5 separate regions of the Homo sapiens genome follow, and regions 1, 2, 4 and 5 are each linked to region 3. Evidence: promoter capture Hi-C in 16 types of primary human blood cells and fetal thymus (Javierre and others, 2016). All regions are on one chromosome and are shown on one strand. The core of a region is centred on a gene start or on the middle of the fragment in contact, and the rest is flanking DNA. Distances in the headings are between cores, read along the strand shown.

Region 1 (2,774 bases), core at 20-2,519, 640 kb before region 3:
AGCGGGAAAAATCTATCAGATTCCAAGAATAATTATAGAGCTACAATAATGAGGACTGTGTATGTAGTACTGGTGGAGGGACAGATATACAGATGAAACAGAACAGGAAAATCAAAAACAGCCCCACGTAAGTACAGCCAAACAATTTCTGAGAGAGGTGCAAAAGCAATTCAATGGCGGAAGAATAGTCTTCCAACAAATGCTGATGGAACAACTGAGTATCTATAAGAGAAAAATGAACTTCCACCTAAACCTCGCACCTTCATAAGGAAATCAACTCAAAATGGATTACACATTTAATGTAAAACATAGCAGTATAAAACTTTTACAAGAGAACACAGGAGAAAATCTTTAAGGTCTATAGCTTGGTAAGGAGTTCTCAGGCAAAACATCAAAAGCATAATCCATAAAATAATTTTAAAAAATCAATATACTGGATTTAATAAAAACTACAAACATTTGCTCTGTGAAAGACCCTATTAAAGAGGATGAAATGACAAGCTACAGACTGAAAGAAAATATTTGCAAACTATGTATCTGATACAGGATTCATATTTAGAATATATTCAAACTCTCAAAACTCAACAGTTAAAAAAAAAAAAAAAACACAACAAAAAACCAATCCAATTAGAAAATGAGCAAAAGATATGAAAAGACATCACCAAAAAGGATATACGAATGGTAAATAAGCACATGAAAAAGATGTTCAACATCACTAGCCATCAGGGAAATGCAAATTAAGACCACGATGAGATATCACTACACACCTATCAGAACAGCTAAAATAAAAAATAATGACAATACCAAATGCTGGCGAAGATTCGGAGACACTGGATCTCTCATACATTGCTGGTGGGAATGTAAAATGGCACGGCCACTCTGGAAAATAGTTTGGCAGTTTCTTAAAAAACTAAACAAACTTAACCACAACCCAGCAATTGCCCTCCTAGGCATTTACCCAGAGAAATGAAAACTTAAGTCCACACAAAAACCTGGACACAACTGCTGATTAGCAGCTTTATTTGCAATAGCCCAGAACTGGAAATGACCAAAACCTCCTACCATAGATAGTTACATAAACTATGGTAATCCATACCATGGAATACTACTCAGCAATAAAAAAGGAGAACTACTGATACAGGCAACAACCTGGATGGATCTCAAGGGTTTGAGTGGAAAAAAACAATCTTAAAAGGTCCCAAACTGTACCATTCTTGAAATGACAAAATTCACGTGATAAAATGACATAAAACTAAACACACACATTGTACCAGTGTCAATTTTCTGGATTTGATATTGTATTACAGTTATATAATATATAAACTTTGGATTCTGGATAAAGATCATATGGGACCTCTCTGCACAATCTTTGAAACATCCTATGAATCAAGTTATTTGAAGGTCAAAAGTTTAAAGAAAAAAGAAAAAAACAGTTTACACATAAAGCCAAGAAAAAAGTAAATCAGGCTCTGCCCAAGAAAATGTGAAGTGGCCTGAAATTCACATCAAGAAAAGAAACCGGACAGCAATTTCACCAAATTTGATAATCCTAAATGCTCATGTAACATCACCAATAGCTTCTCTAAATTATCAGCTACAAAAAAATACACAGACACACAAACACACACACACACACACCCAGATGGCCTTGACTTACAATGGTCTGATTTACAATTTTTCAACTTTACCAAAATGGTACAAAACAGCTGCAATTTTGAAGTACTTGGAATTTTGAATTTTGATCTTTTCCTGGGCTAGCAGTATGCAGTATGTGAGATATTCAATGCTTTATTATAAAACAGGCTTTGTGTTAGATAATTTTGCCCAACTGTAGGCTAATTCTGAGCACATTTAAGATAGGCTGGGCTAAGCTGATATTCAGTAGGTTATGTGTATTAAATGCGTTTTCAATTTATGATGGGTTTATCACGATGTAATCCCATCATAAGTTGAGGAGCATCTGTATAAATCCATCAACAGGGGCAGGGGTTGGCAAACTACAGCCCATAAGCCAACTCCAGCCACCTGTTTTTATAAATAAAATTTTACTAAAATAGTCACAGAGATACAAAAAAACAAAAGCCAATTCTGTTGGCTTTAGTTACTGGTTATCTTGTAACAATACTGACTATCAGAGAATACTATCACCTTATAAAACTATACTCATCTTACTGGAGCACAAAGAATTATAATTCAATGGCATGTTTTATTCTTAAAACAAGTTTCTAAATATATCAAAATATGAGACTTTAAAAAAGGCAACTTCCCAGCTGCCATTCAATTTAATAAACTACATAAAGTGCTCCCTGCCAAGTTCCAACATGCGCACACACATACACACACACACACACACACACACACACACACGATGGAAGTACAGCTTAACTGCAGTTACCATACCTTAGAAAGTATCAAATCGCCTAACCATCGCACACAATCAACATAATTCCTATGTATGTCTCTGGTAGAAAAATCAGGAAAATGGATTTTCTGAGAAATAAATGGCCTGAAGGAAGAATGGAAATGTAAAAAGTTAAAAGAAAAAATTATAGTAGAATCATACTCTTTTTCATTTTTGGATTTATAAAACTTGGAAAAACAAAATGTAAGACTATTAATTCCTCTGTGTTCCTACATAACCAACCACCTTATCTATTTATTGAAAGCTAAAGTCTCATTCCACTTTTGTTTATTTTTCTCCATTATTATCCAATTTTATCTTTGTCCTATGATAGATACTTTGTTTATAAACATTGTAGTTTCCTGCGTTTTAC
Region 2 (2,784 bases), core at 129-2,628, 600 kb before region 3:
CGCACCCAGCCTAATTTTTATACTTGATCTTAGTCAAAAGGCTGAGAAGCAATCCTGACCTAATTTTCTATTTAGTTTTTCTGCTGGGCATTCTGCCACATTTGCCCTCTCTCCACACAGTTCTTCTCTAGTAACAAACAAGTTCATTTCCAAATGGCTCTTTCTAAGTTTATTTGTTCGCAAGACCAAAAGAACTAAGAGATGTTTATGTTTGCAAGCCCTGGATGGAATTCCACCAGATAAGTTCTCTGAAGAGAACCAGCACACTTACTGTTTGTAATAGCAAAAGACTACAATATAGATCCATCAATGGGGTATTGATTATATAAGTTATAGTATATCTATAATGTAGTCTTTAAAATAAATAAGGTATATCTATATGAATTGATATAGAACAATCTCCAAAATATATTACATGGGAAAAAAGTTACAGAACAGTGTGTATAATGTGCCCTTATGTGTATGAAAGGAAATATTTAAATTCCTAATAAAGGTCACCTTTAGGCAGGGAACTGGGGGTATAGGAAAGAAGGAAAAGTTGGTTTTTACTGTGTGTCTTTTTTATACTATTTGAATTATAAACATTTATAATTATTGCTTTAAAAAATTAGTTTGCCTTCAACATCACAGACTAGACATGCTCTATTCTACTTCCTGTACAATCTCTCAGCTATCTTTTCTCATATACTAGTTTCCACCACGTTGAACATATGTTTAGGAAGGAAATCTCCCTCTTTGGTGATGGCTGCAAGTGTAGAAATCTCCTTGGCAGCTATGATGTCCTTAAACTACAGAACTTAAGTGTGGCTATGTAAAAAGTTCCATCAGGTGCATTTTTATCATGTTCAGTCCTCAAGTTCCTAAACAAATGATGTTTTTATCCAGAATTAACTTGATTCTGGCATCTGACATTAATATTCCTTCTCTAGCTGTACACCCATAAAGCCTTTCCTTCTGACAATTTTTTTATTCTTCTTGCTTATTATTGTTGATAGCATAGATATATGAGTGATTGCATGATCAGACATTTGTTCCTCAGAATTGTCATTATTCCTGAACAATTTATCCCATCACTACATACATTTATCATCTTCAATTTTTACATCTATTTTTGTTTTTAAACTAATTGCCTGTCTCTCCCTACTAACATTGTTAATACTCCAGATGCATTTGATCTTACTGAACATGAAAGATCAATGATAACATTTGTAATTTTTGTAAAACATTGAAAATTAAGAGCAAATCCATCAATTATACAAAGATCAAAGGCCATAAAGTTGTGTTCTCCAGGCTTCAGCCTGCATAGTTTTTTTTTGTTTGGCCCACATAACATTTTTTGTTTTATTTATCTATGTATTTAGGTTATTTTGTTTTTAAAATGTAACTTTTAAGTTCAGGAGTAAATGTGCAGGTTTGTTATACAAGTAAACTTCTTTCACGGGAGTTCGTTGTACAGATTATTTCATCAGCCAGGTATTAGGCCTAGTACCCATTAGTTATTTTTCCTGATCCTCTCCCTCCTCCTAACCTCCACCCTCCAATAGGCCCCAGTGTGTATTTTTTCCCTCTATGTAACCATTTATTCTCATCACTTAGCTCCCACTTGTAAGTGAGCGCACGTGGTATTTAGTTTTCTGTTCCTACATTAGTTTGCTAAGGATAATGGCCTCCAGCTCCATCCATGTTTCCTCAAAGGACATGATCTTGTTCTTTTTTATGGCTGCATAGTATTCCATTGTGTATATGTACCACATTTTCTTTATTCGGTCTACCAGTGATGGGCATTTAGGTTGATTCCATGCCTTTGCTATTGTCAATAGTGCTGCAATGAACATACATGTGCATGTGTCTTTATGACAGAATGATGTATATTTCTTTGGGTATATACCCAGTGATGGGATTGCTCTGTTGAATGGTATTTCTGTTTTTAGGTCTTTGAGGAATCACCACACTGTCTTCCACAATGGCTGAACTAATTTATCCTCCCATCAACAGTGTATAAGCATTCCTTTTCCTCCACAACCTCATTAGCATCTGTTATTTTTTGACTTTTTAATAATAGCTATTCTGGGTCAGGTGTGGTGGCTCATGCATGTAATCCCAGCACTTTGGGAGGCTAAGGCGAGTGGATCCCTTTAAGTCAGGAGTTCAAGATTAGCCTGCCAACATGGTGAAACCCCGTTTCTACTAAAAATACAAAAATTAGCTGGGCACAGTGGCATGCACCTGTAATCCCAGCTACTAGGGAAGCTGAAGCAGGAGAGTCACTTGAACCTGGGAGGCAGAGGTTGCAGTGAGCTGAGATCGCACCACTGCACTCTAGCCTGGGTGACAGAGTGAGACTCTGTCTTAAAAAAAAATAGAACCGTTCTGACTGGTGTGAGATGGTATCTCATTGTGGTTTTTATTTGCATTTCTCTAATGATCAGTGACGTTGAGTTTTTTAATGATTGTTGGCCACATATATGCCTTCTTTTGAAAAGTGCCTGTTCACGTTTTTTGCCCACTTTTTAATGGGCTGTTTGTTTTTTTCTTGTAAATTTAAGTTCCTTGTAGATGCTGGATATTATTAGACCTTTGTCAGGTGTATAGTTTGCAAAAATTTTCTTACATTCTGTAGGTTGTCTGTTTACTCTATTGATAGTTTCCTTTCCTGTGCAGAAGCTCTTTAATTAGATCCCTTTTGTCAATTTTTGCTTCTGTTGCAATTGCTTTTGGTGTCTTTATCATGAAACCTAAGTCTTTAATCCATCTTCAGTTGATTTTTCTACATGGTTTAAGGAA
Region 3 (2,700 bases), core at 1-2,500:
TGACTTGCCGGTGGGCGGGGACCCAGAACGCCCTGGGCGGGAAGTGGTGCTGATTTACGGCTCAACGCCTCTCGATTGCAGCCCGGGCCCGCCCCCACTCAGTCAAAAGCCGCGCCCTCCATCCTGACTGTGATTGGGCGCGGCGTCTAGAAATTACGGCCACTTATTCGCTTAGAGGAGGTCCAGGCGCCTGTGGGCCTGCCCCCCTCGCCAGCCGAGTATTTCCTTCCCTGACTATTTATCAGCTTAGCTCCCTGATCTCTTCGCGTCCTGCGGGAAAGATGGGGCGGCCCGAATGTTGTAATGTTACTGCGCTCCTGCCTCTCCTCAGGGCAGCTGGGAACTAGCTGCCTGCCCCTTTCAGTCCTTGAGGGAACTCGCCCCTTTGCCCTGGCCTGTGTGGTGTTAAAGCTCTGTTTCTCGGGCACCTCCTCCTCCAAACCCCGGACCAGCCGCCCAGCGCCGTCAGAGCAGCCCCGACTAGCCTCCTCTCCTCTCAGCCGTCTGACTCCTCTCCCCAGTCTGTAGTCCCCTCAATTTGCATCCTTTAGCCCCGCTTGGAAAGAGACCGGAGAGAAATTTGCCCACTACCCCCGCGAGAAGACCCACTTGTCAGCCGTGTCTCGGGGTGGGGGGCACTGCAAGGCCTGGCGCTGTTTTGTGCACGTTAAATGCCCAGCAGTATCTCCCAGACCGGCAACCCCCGACCCTCCAGTCTCCATGTCTTACAGAAGCCAAATTCGAGAGTTATATAATTTCTAGTGCTGCTGTTGCTCCTGCCTGAGGAAACACTTCATCGCGTGGAGGGTGCAGGACATTTCAGTGCTCTTCCCTAAAAGAACGGGGCTTGGGCAGGGGTGGCCAGCGGTGGCAAAGAAATGTCTTGTCTTTTCTGCAAAAGGAAGGTGGGTAGTTTGAAGAGAGATTGAGAGAAAAGGTGGATGTGAAAGCCAAGCAGCTGCACTTTCTCATTTAGGAAATCGCGGACCGTTTACATAGCTTATGCTTACATGTCTAATACTACTACGGCGTCTCTGAAAACACCTTTGGGGGAAGGTTTGGCTTCTCTCGAAGTCTCAGTGTTTTTCCTCGCCGGATAGGGAGCTGCTTGAATGCGAAGAGATGGCATGATGTGAATGACTCCAGTGTGAAGAAATCTGCTTCGCCAACTCATCCTGCATCAAGTGCCCATTGAGTAGCACTGTCACTTTAATGTCTCCATGCCAAGGGATTGCTTTCCTTTTTTTTCAATCCTCTCGGTTAATACATGGGAGGATCAGAATCAGAGGGGCATTAAGGATCAAGCCTGGGGGCTTGGAGAGCACAGAAGAAAAAAATGAAAGGGACAGCAAGCTGGATTCTGAGTTACTGAGGGGGTGAGATCCGGAACTTCTGATCAGTAAATATAAGGGGGCCTTTCAATGTGTGTTCTGCCACAGAAAACTGTTCAAACTCACCTATCTTTTTAGAGACTGGAGTCAAAGAGATTTTTAAAAGTATTTTTGGGGAGGTGGGGTTACATTTTTCTCTACAGATTTGAGTATCTTTATCATCATCTTTGAATTTGACCATGTATAAAGTAATGAGACCTGTCTAAATTTGGTTTGTGCCTTAATTGAGTTAGTCATTGAACTTCCAAAAATGTTGCTGCCTGAAGAGGAATTTCAGTAACGTTCTTCATGTTTACAATAATTTTCCCAGTTTGTAAAAACAGTCTAAATATTTTCTGAAAATTGAAAAACTTGAAAAACTAAAAAATTACGTTGCTGTAAACTCTGTGGGCGGTGTAAAAAGTTTAGTTGTGGAAAAAATACATCATTATTTTCTTTGTCTGACATAGAAGACTCAGCCTGGATTTCAAAACTGAACACTGAAGTGGTTTGCAACAGTTACCTGGCTCTTGGCCTCAATCCAGCTGGATCAAACTGAGACCTGAAAAGAGATATTGACTCCTGTGGCAGTGGAAAGACCCAAGAATGCCAGTCAAGAAGACAGGTGGGCCATAAGGTTGCTATATAATATTTCTCCCTTTTGTTGGTTCTGGTACTTGTAATTTAAATTATATTCCATTTGAGAGTAAAGTTTTGCTTCAGTTTGGGGGAAATATTTATTGTAATATAGTTTCAGTGGTACATAATTCAGTAATATTATTTTACTAAAGTAAAAGGAAGCAAGACTATAGTATTTATTGATAGATATTTATGATTTCATAAATCAGGTTGTTTATATCACCGTTGGTAATAAGAATAGATTCAGTACCGCAGATTTGGAGTCTCCTTTAGCTTGTTTTCTTAGCTTGTTGAAGGTTACTTTTAAGCAGTCTTTAAAAAAGAAACTTGTGCAGTGGAGCTCTTCCTCATGGGTTTAATATTTATCAAACTAATTACAGAATTGTGAAAGGTAGCAAAGTAATTTCATTTGCACTGAACAAAATTACAGCTTTATAATTTATCTTTTGGTTAAAAAATAGACTTATTATTTGGATTTATTCTAGTGTAAATCTTCACTTTTGTGATAAAGCACAACTTTCGTGACTATTGTGCTTTTCCAGATATATGCATTATCCAATAACATGATTGTCAAGTTCCCCAAATGGGGCAAACACCTGTTTTTTTCCTCCCTCCTCAACAACTTTTATTATTGGAATTGATCAAGATCTAGTGAATTCCTGAAGCATAGTTGATTATATTCTGAACTTGG
Region 4 (2,717 bases), core at 167-2,666, 580 kb before region 3:
ATGCATGGTGTGATCTCGGCTCACTGCAACCTCCGCCTCCCAGGTTCAAGGAATTCTCATGCCTCAGCCTCCCAAGTAGCTGGGACTCCTGGCCTGTGCTACTATGCTTGGCTAATTTTTGTATTTTTAGTAGAGACAAGGTTTCACCATGTTGGCCAGGCTGGTCTCGAACTCCTGACCTTAAGTGATCCGCACTCCTCGGCCAACCAAAGTGCTGGGATTACATGCGTGAGCCACTGTGCCGGGCCAGAGTCAGTTTTAACGAGGGACTCATTCTAGGTGGACAGGAGAAGAGTGGCGTGGGAGTGTGGCATTGAGTGAGGTGTGAGTCCAGAAGGGGAAGCCTAAAGTGATCCTAGTTTAAGGTTTCAGGGTCATGAAAAAGAAAGAAGTGGATGTCAAAGACCACCTTGGCCTAGTCTACCTTCCTTTGACATAAGGTTGCCCCAGAGTTGGAACGGGATGACATTTGAGTAACCTTCTAATCAGGACTGTACCAGGTCAGCCCTGGACTAAAAGGAATGAGTCTAGGATGGAATCTAGTCAGACACTGTATCAGGTGCCCTTAGTGGGAAGTAAAAGAGACAGATGCAGACCAGGAGTTTAAAATCCAGTTAAGACTCATGAAACAACAAAGAAAACATTCACAGAACAACACAGCAATTAACTTACTAGTTACTATTTACTGAGTGCTTTCTACATGCCAGTGTTTGCATTAAGTGCTTTACAAACATGACTTAACTGAAAATGATTTCTATTGCCCTTGATGAAGAAATGTAGGCTTGGAGAGAATGAGTAACTTGTTCAAGGTTATACATCCAATAAGTGTTGAAAACCAGATGTGGCCTCAGGTTTGGCTGACTCCAGAACTTGCGCTTTTTGTGCACTACACTAGAGAGCCTCTATCATTGAGTCTCTGGTATGCAACCTCTGGTCCAAGTGATTACCTAAAATCATGTGGTAAATTTTACCATGTTCTCAAGGTTTAAAACCTTTCCACAGCTCTCCACTGCCTTACAGAATGTGTTAAACACTGGAGTATTTGACTGAACCAAGTAGAGGTAACTGAGTTGAATGAGGTCAATGTTGGTTTCCAAAAACAGTGAGTTTACTTGAAGTTTACTTGAAGGAAGTAAGGAATATGGAATATCGAGGAGAAAGAACAAAGCAAGGACTAAACCTAGACCTGGAATATTTCAGGGAAAAAACCCTAGACTTACTTCTACATCCACTAAAGCCAAACTTCTGCACCTACCAAACCAAACTTCTCATGAACACACACACACACACACACACACACACACACCCCACAGAACCTATGAGATTCTACTAATTTTTTTTTACCAGATAAATAGAATAGTAAAATTAGTAGGGTACATTTTACCAGAAGTAAGCTGTTTTTACTTACAGCACTTCTGACACCAACTTTTTGGGTTGTTTTCTCACACCAACCAATTCTCCATGTCTCTGGAAATTGACTGGGTGTCCAACAATCCAATTCAATTAGCACTAACTACTCAGAGTTGGCCTCTGACTCTTCAGGTTTAAGGGCTCAGAGCCACAGGCTGCCCTCATTTCAGATGCTACGTGCAATATCAGATCACCTGTACTTCTCCACCCTCCCCTAGCTTTATTAAGCTATAGTTGGCAAATAAAAATGATATATATTTACAGTGTACAATGTGAGGTTTTGATATATGTATATGTGGTGAAATAATTAAATCAAAGTAATTAACATATCCATCACTGCACATACAACTTTTTTGTAGTGAGAACATTTAAAATCTATTGTCTTAGCAATTTTCCAGAATACAATACAGTATTCTTAACTATCATCACTATGCTGTACAATAGATCTCCAGAATTTATTCATCCTAACAGTTAGAAACCCTCTACCCTTTGACAGTATCTCCCCATTCCTTTCTCCTTACCCCCAGGCCCTGTTAACCACCATTTTACTCTCTGCTTCTATGAGTTCCACATATAAGTGAGATCTGTAGTATCTGTAGTCTTTCAGTGCCTGGCTTATCTCACTTAGCATAATATCCTTTAGGTTTACCCAGATTGTCATAAATGACAGAACTTCCTTATTTTGAAAGGCTGAACAATATTACATTGTGTGTGTGTGTGTAAAACATTTTCTTTATCCATTCATCCATTGATGGACACTTAGATTGATTTTCTGTCTTGGCTGTTGTGAATAATGCTGCAATGATTGTGGGGATGCAGATATCTCTTCAATATATTGATTTCCTTTCTTTTGGATATATATCCAGAAGTGGGATTGCTGGGTCATAAGGTAGTCCTATTATTAATTTCTGAGGAACCTCTACGTGATTTTCCATAGTGGCTGTACCAATTTACATTCTGACCCACATTGTACAAGGGTTCCCCTTTGTCCACATCCTCACCAACATGTATTATCATTTGTCTTTTTGATAGCTATTCGAACATGTGTGAGGTGATATCTCATTGTGGTTTTAATTTAACTTACATTTTCCTGATAATTAGTGATGTTGACCATTTTTTCATATACCTGTTGGCCATTCATACGTCTTCTTTTGAGAAATGTCTATTCAGGTCTTTTGCCTTTCTTTTCTCTTTTTTTTTTTTTTTTTTTTTTTGAGACGGAGTTTCACTCTTGTTGCCCAGGCTGAGTACAATGGCACAATCTCAGCTCACCGCAACCTCTGCTTCCCGGGTTCAAGAGATTCTCC
Region 5 (2,700 bases), core at 98-2,597, 560 kb before region 3:
GATCCAAGAGATGCAGAGGCTAAGCATTGTTGGAACCAAGTCTATTCGTAGGAGACTCTCCAGAGAAGGCCCAGAGCAACCTGCTTGCTGCTGAGGTCCCCGGAGCCACTCTGAAGCCTGCCTCTCCACAATGATTTCTCAGTTTCTCCTTTCATTCCACACAAGTATACATCCAATAAATCTTCTTCCATTCCCTTCTGAAGCAACGAGTTGCAACCAATAGAACCCTAATACATGTAACAATGCTAGAGTTATTGGGAGAAATGGTTGAAACATTAATCAAATTCGTGTAATAGGTTTAGGGAGAAGAAGGTGCACATTTAGGAATATGTAGGTGCAGAAGAAAGAGTTTGGAGTGCCTTCCACATTTCTGGCTTCAGTGACTGGGTTGATGTTGCTACAGTCATACAGGTAGGGCATATGGGGAAAAAAAGGAGTGATCGGAGGGGAAGATACTGGACTCAAGGTGCCTAGAGGACATTCAAATGGAGATATACAGTTGGAAACTAGATATGTGCTTCTGGAATTCAAGAGCGTAGTCTAGGCTGGCAATACATATTTGGGAATTTTCAGCATTTAAATTGTCATTACCGCCATGGGGGTGAATGAGATTGCCCAGAGTATTAAGTTAAAAAAGAAGGATCCAATAATGAAATCCTATATTTAATACCGATGTATAAGAAGCAGGTAGAAGGAAAGAAATGCTGAAAGGAGGCTTAGAAGGAATGGCCAGGGAGGGAGAAGCAGAACCAGGAGAAGTGCCAAATGAAAGGAGAACGTGGAAAAGGATATGATGTCTAAATCAGTTCAGCATCATTACCAGTGTCCTCTTCATCTACAGCTGAGGCTGCAGTCACGCTATCAAACATACCTCCTGAGCCTGCTCCCAGACCCAGGGAATTTTTTTTTTTTTAAAGACAGAGTCTCACTCTGTCGCCCAGGCTGGAGTGCAGTGGTGCGATCTTAGCTCACTGCAGCCTTCGCCTCCTGGGTTCAAGCTATTCTTGTGCCTCAGCCTCCTAAGTAGCTGAGATTATAGGTGCCTGACACCACGCCCAGGCTAATTTTTGTATTTTTAGTAGAGATGAGGTTTCACCATCTCGAACCTGACCTGAGATCATCCTGACCTCGGGTGATCTCCCCTCCTTGGCTTCCCAAAGTATTGGGACTACAGGCGTGAGCCACTACGCCCTGCCCAAACCCAGGGAATTTCTTTAAGCTCCATCTTCTGCCTTTTGCTATGGCCCTAGATTCTCCTGCACTGCTTGGCTTTTTTGGATGGATGGCTTAGAGTAACAGCTGATGGCTGTTAAAATATTGTGAGTTCACCAACAATGAAAGAAATACAAATCGAAACAGCCTAAGATTGTTAAGATTCAGGCCAGGTGTGGTGGCTCACACATGTAATCCCAGCACTTTGGGAGGCCGAGGCAGGCAGATCACCTGAGACCAGGAGTTTGAGACCAACCTGGCCAACATGCTGAAACCTCATTTCTACTAAAAAATACAAAAATTAGCTGGATGTGGTTGTGCATGCCTGTAATTCCCAGCTACTGGGGAGGTTGAGGCAGGATAATCACTTGAACCCAGGAGGAAGTGGTTGCAGTGAGCCAAGATCGTGCCACTGCACTTGAGCCTGGGCAACAGAGTGAGATTCTGTCTCAAAATAAAAATAAAAAATAAGATTCTATCATGTACCTATACCTGATATGGTTTGGCTCAGTCACCACCCAAATCTCATCTTGAATTGTAATAATCCCCATGTGTCAAGGGCCGGGCCAGATGGAGATAACTGAATCATGGGGATGGTTTCCCCCATACTGTTCTCATGGGAGAGAGTAAGTTTCATGAGATCTGATGGTTTTATAAATGGGCGTTCCCCTACACAAACTCTCTTACCTGCTACCATGTAAGACATGACTTTGCTTCTCCTTTGCCTTCTGCCATGATTATGAGGCCTCCCCAGCCATGTGGAACTGTGAGTCAATTAAACCTCTTTTCTTTATAAATTATCCAGTCTCAAGTATGTCTTTATTAGCAGTGTGAGAACAGACTAATACAGTAACTATATCATTAATATACACAAATAAAGCAACAAAGCCTTATGTTGGCAGAGGCTGTGGAGAGGAAGGCAAGTGCAAACTTTGCTGATAGCATTTTAGGTACAGTCAACTCTTCTGCAGACTAACCAGGGAAGCAGTACATGAGCTGTATGTGCCCTTTGTTCCACTTTGGAACATACCTCAAGGACATAAGCTAAAGGAAAAATGTAGTAAGCAGTGAAGATTCTAGTACCACTATTTATAATGGCACAAAATGAAAACAATCCAAGTCCTGAGCTTTAAAGTAATTTTTAAATAATATCCAACTAACTGATTTGGAACGCTGTGTAACCATTAAAAATGATAACCAAGTGAACATGGAAACATATCTATGAAATAATGTTGAGTGAAAAAAGCAAAGCACACTAAGCGTCAGTGAGGGCATAGGAAAGTGGGAACCCTCAATATATTGTTGGTGGGAATATAAAATGGTACAGCCACTTTCGAAAACACAACCTGGAAGTTCCTCAAAAAGTTAAAAATAGAGTTATCGTTTGACAATGTCACTCCTAAGTATATGCCCAAGAGAAATGAAAACATATGTCCACACAAAAACTTGTACACAAATATTCATAACAGCACTACTCATAATAGTCAA

The links. Contacts are between HindIII fragments. The CHiCAGO score rates a contact against its expected background, and 5 or more counts as called.
Region 1: a fragment that was not itself captured here is called in contact with the fragment with the promoter of DLG2 in region 3 in 10 of 17 cell types (naive CD8 T cells, non-activated CD4 T cells, naive CD4 T cells and 7 more); the score reaches 13.0 in naive CD8 T cells.
Region 2: a fragment that was not itself captured here is called in contact with the fragment with the promoter of DLG2 in region 3 in 2 of 17 cell types (naive CD4 T cells and naive CD8 T cells); the score reaches 5.6 in naive CD4 T cells.
Region 4: a fragment that was not itself captured here is called in contact with the fragment with the promoter of DLG2 in region 3 in 7 of 17 cell types (activated CD4 T cells, total CD4 T cells, naive CD8 T cells and 4 more); the score reaches 11.4 in activated CD4 T cells.
Region 5: a fragment that was not itself captured here is called in contact with the fragment with the promoter of DLG2 in region 3 in 7 of 17 cell types (non-activated CD4 T cells, naive CD4 T cells, activated CD4 T cells and 4 more); the score reaches 10.5 in non-activated CD4 T cells.

Annotation. Positions count from the first base shown.
Region 1 is chr11:86,268,188-86,270,961 of GRCh38, reverse strand. It overlaps EED (embryonic ectoderm development), which reads right to left. Exons shown (of 12, transcript NM_003797.5): 9 at 2,401-2,506. Among named protein-coding and RNA genes, the nearest start is that of MIR6755, 8.8 kb to the left of the region's middle. The HindIII fragment of the contact is 6,326 bases long and covers 1-2,774 here.
Region 2 is chr11:86,224,487-86,227,270 of GRCh38, reverse strand. No RefSeq gene overlaps it. Among named protein-coding and RNA genes, the nearest start is that of EED, 19 kb to the left of the region's middle. The HindIII fragment of the contact is 7,356 bases long and covers 1-2,784 here.
Region 3 is chr11:85,625,894-85,628,593 of GRCh38, reverse strand. DLG2 (discs large MAGUK scaffold protein 2) reads left to right here and starts at 1,250. Exons shown (of 28, transcript NM_001142699.3): 1 at 1,250-1,376; 2 at 1,841-2,007. TMEM126B (transmembrane protein 126B) reads right to left here and starts at 1. Exons shown (of 5, transcript NM_018480.7): 1 at 1. RefSeq lists enhancers at 204-393, 534-583, 664-823, 696-1,204. The HindIII fragment of the contact is 9,013 bases long and covers 1-2,700 here.
Region 4 is chr11:86,208,092-86,210,808 of GRCh38, reverse strand. No RefSeq gene overlaps it. Among named protein-coding and RNA genes, the nearest start is that of LINC02695, 16 kb to the right of the region's middle. The HindIII fragment of the contact is 3,371 bases long and covers 1-2,717 here.
Region 5 is chr11:86,188,970-86,191,669 of GRCh38, reverse strand. LINC02695 (long intergenic non-protein coding RNA 2695) reads left to right here. Exons shown (of 2, transcript XR_001748524.2): 2 at 1-202. Among named protein-coding and RNA genes, the nearest start is that of LINC02695, 3.2 kb to the left of the region's middle. The HindIII fragment of the contact is 3,645 bases long and covers 1-2,700 here.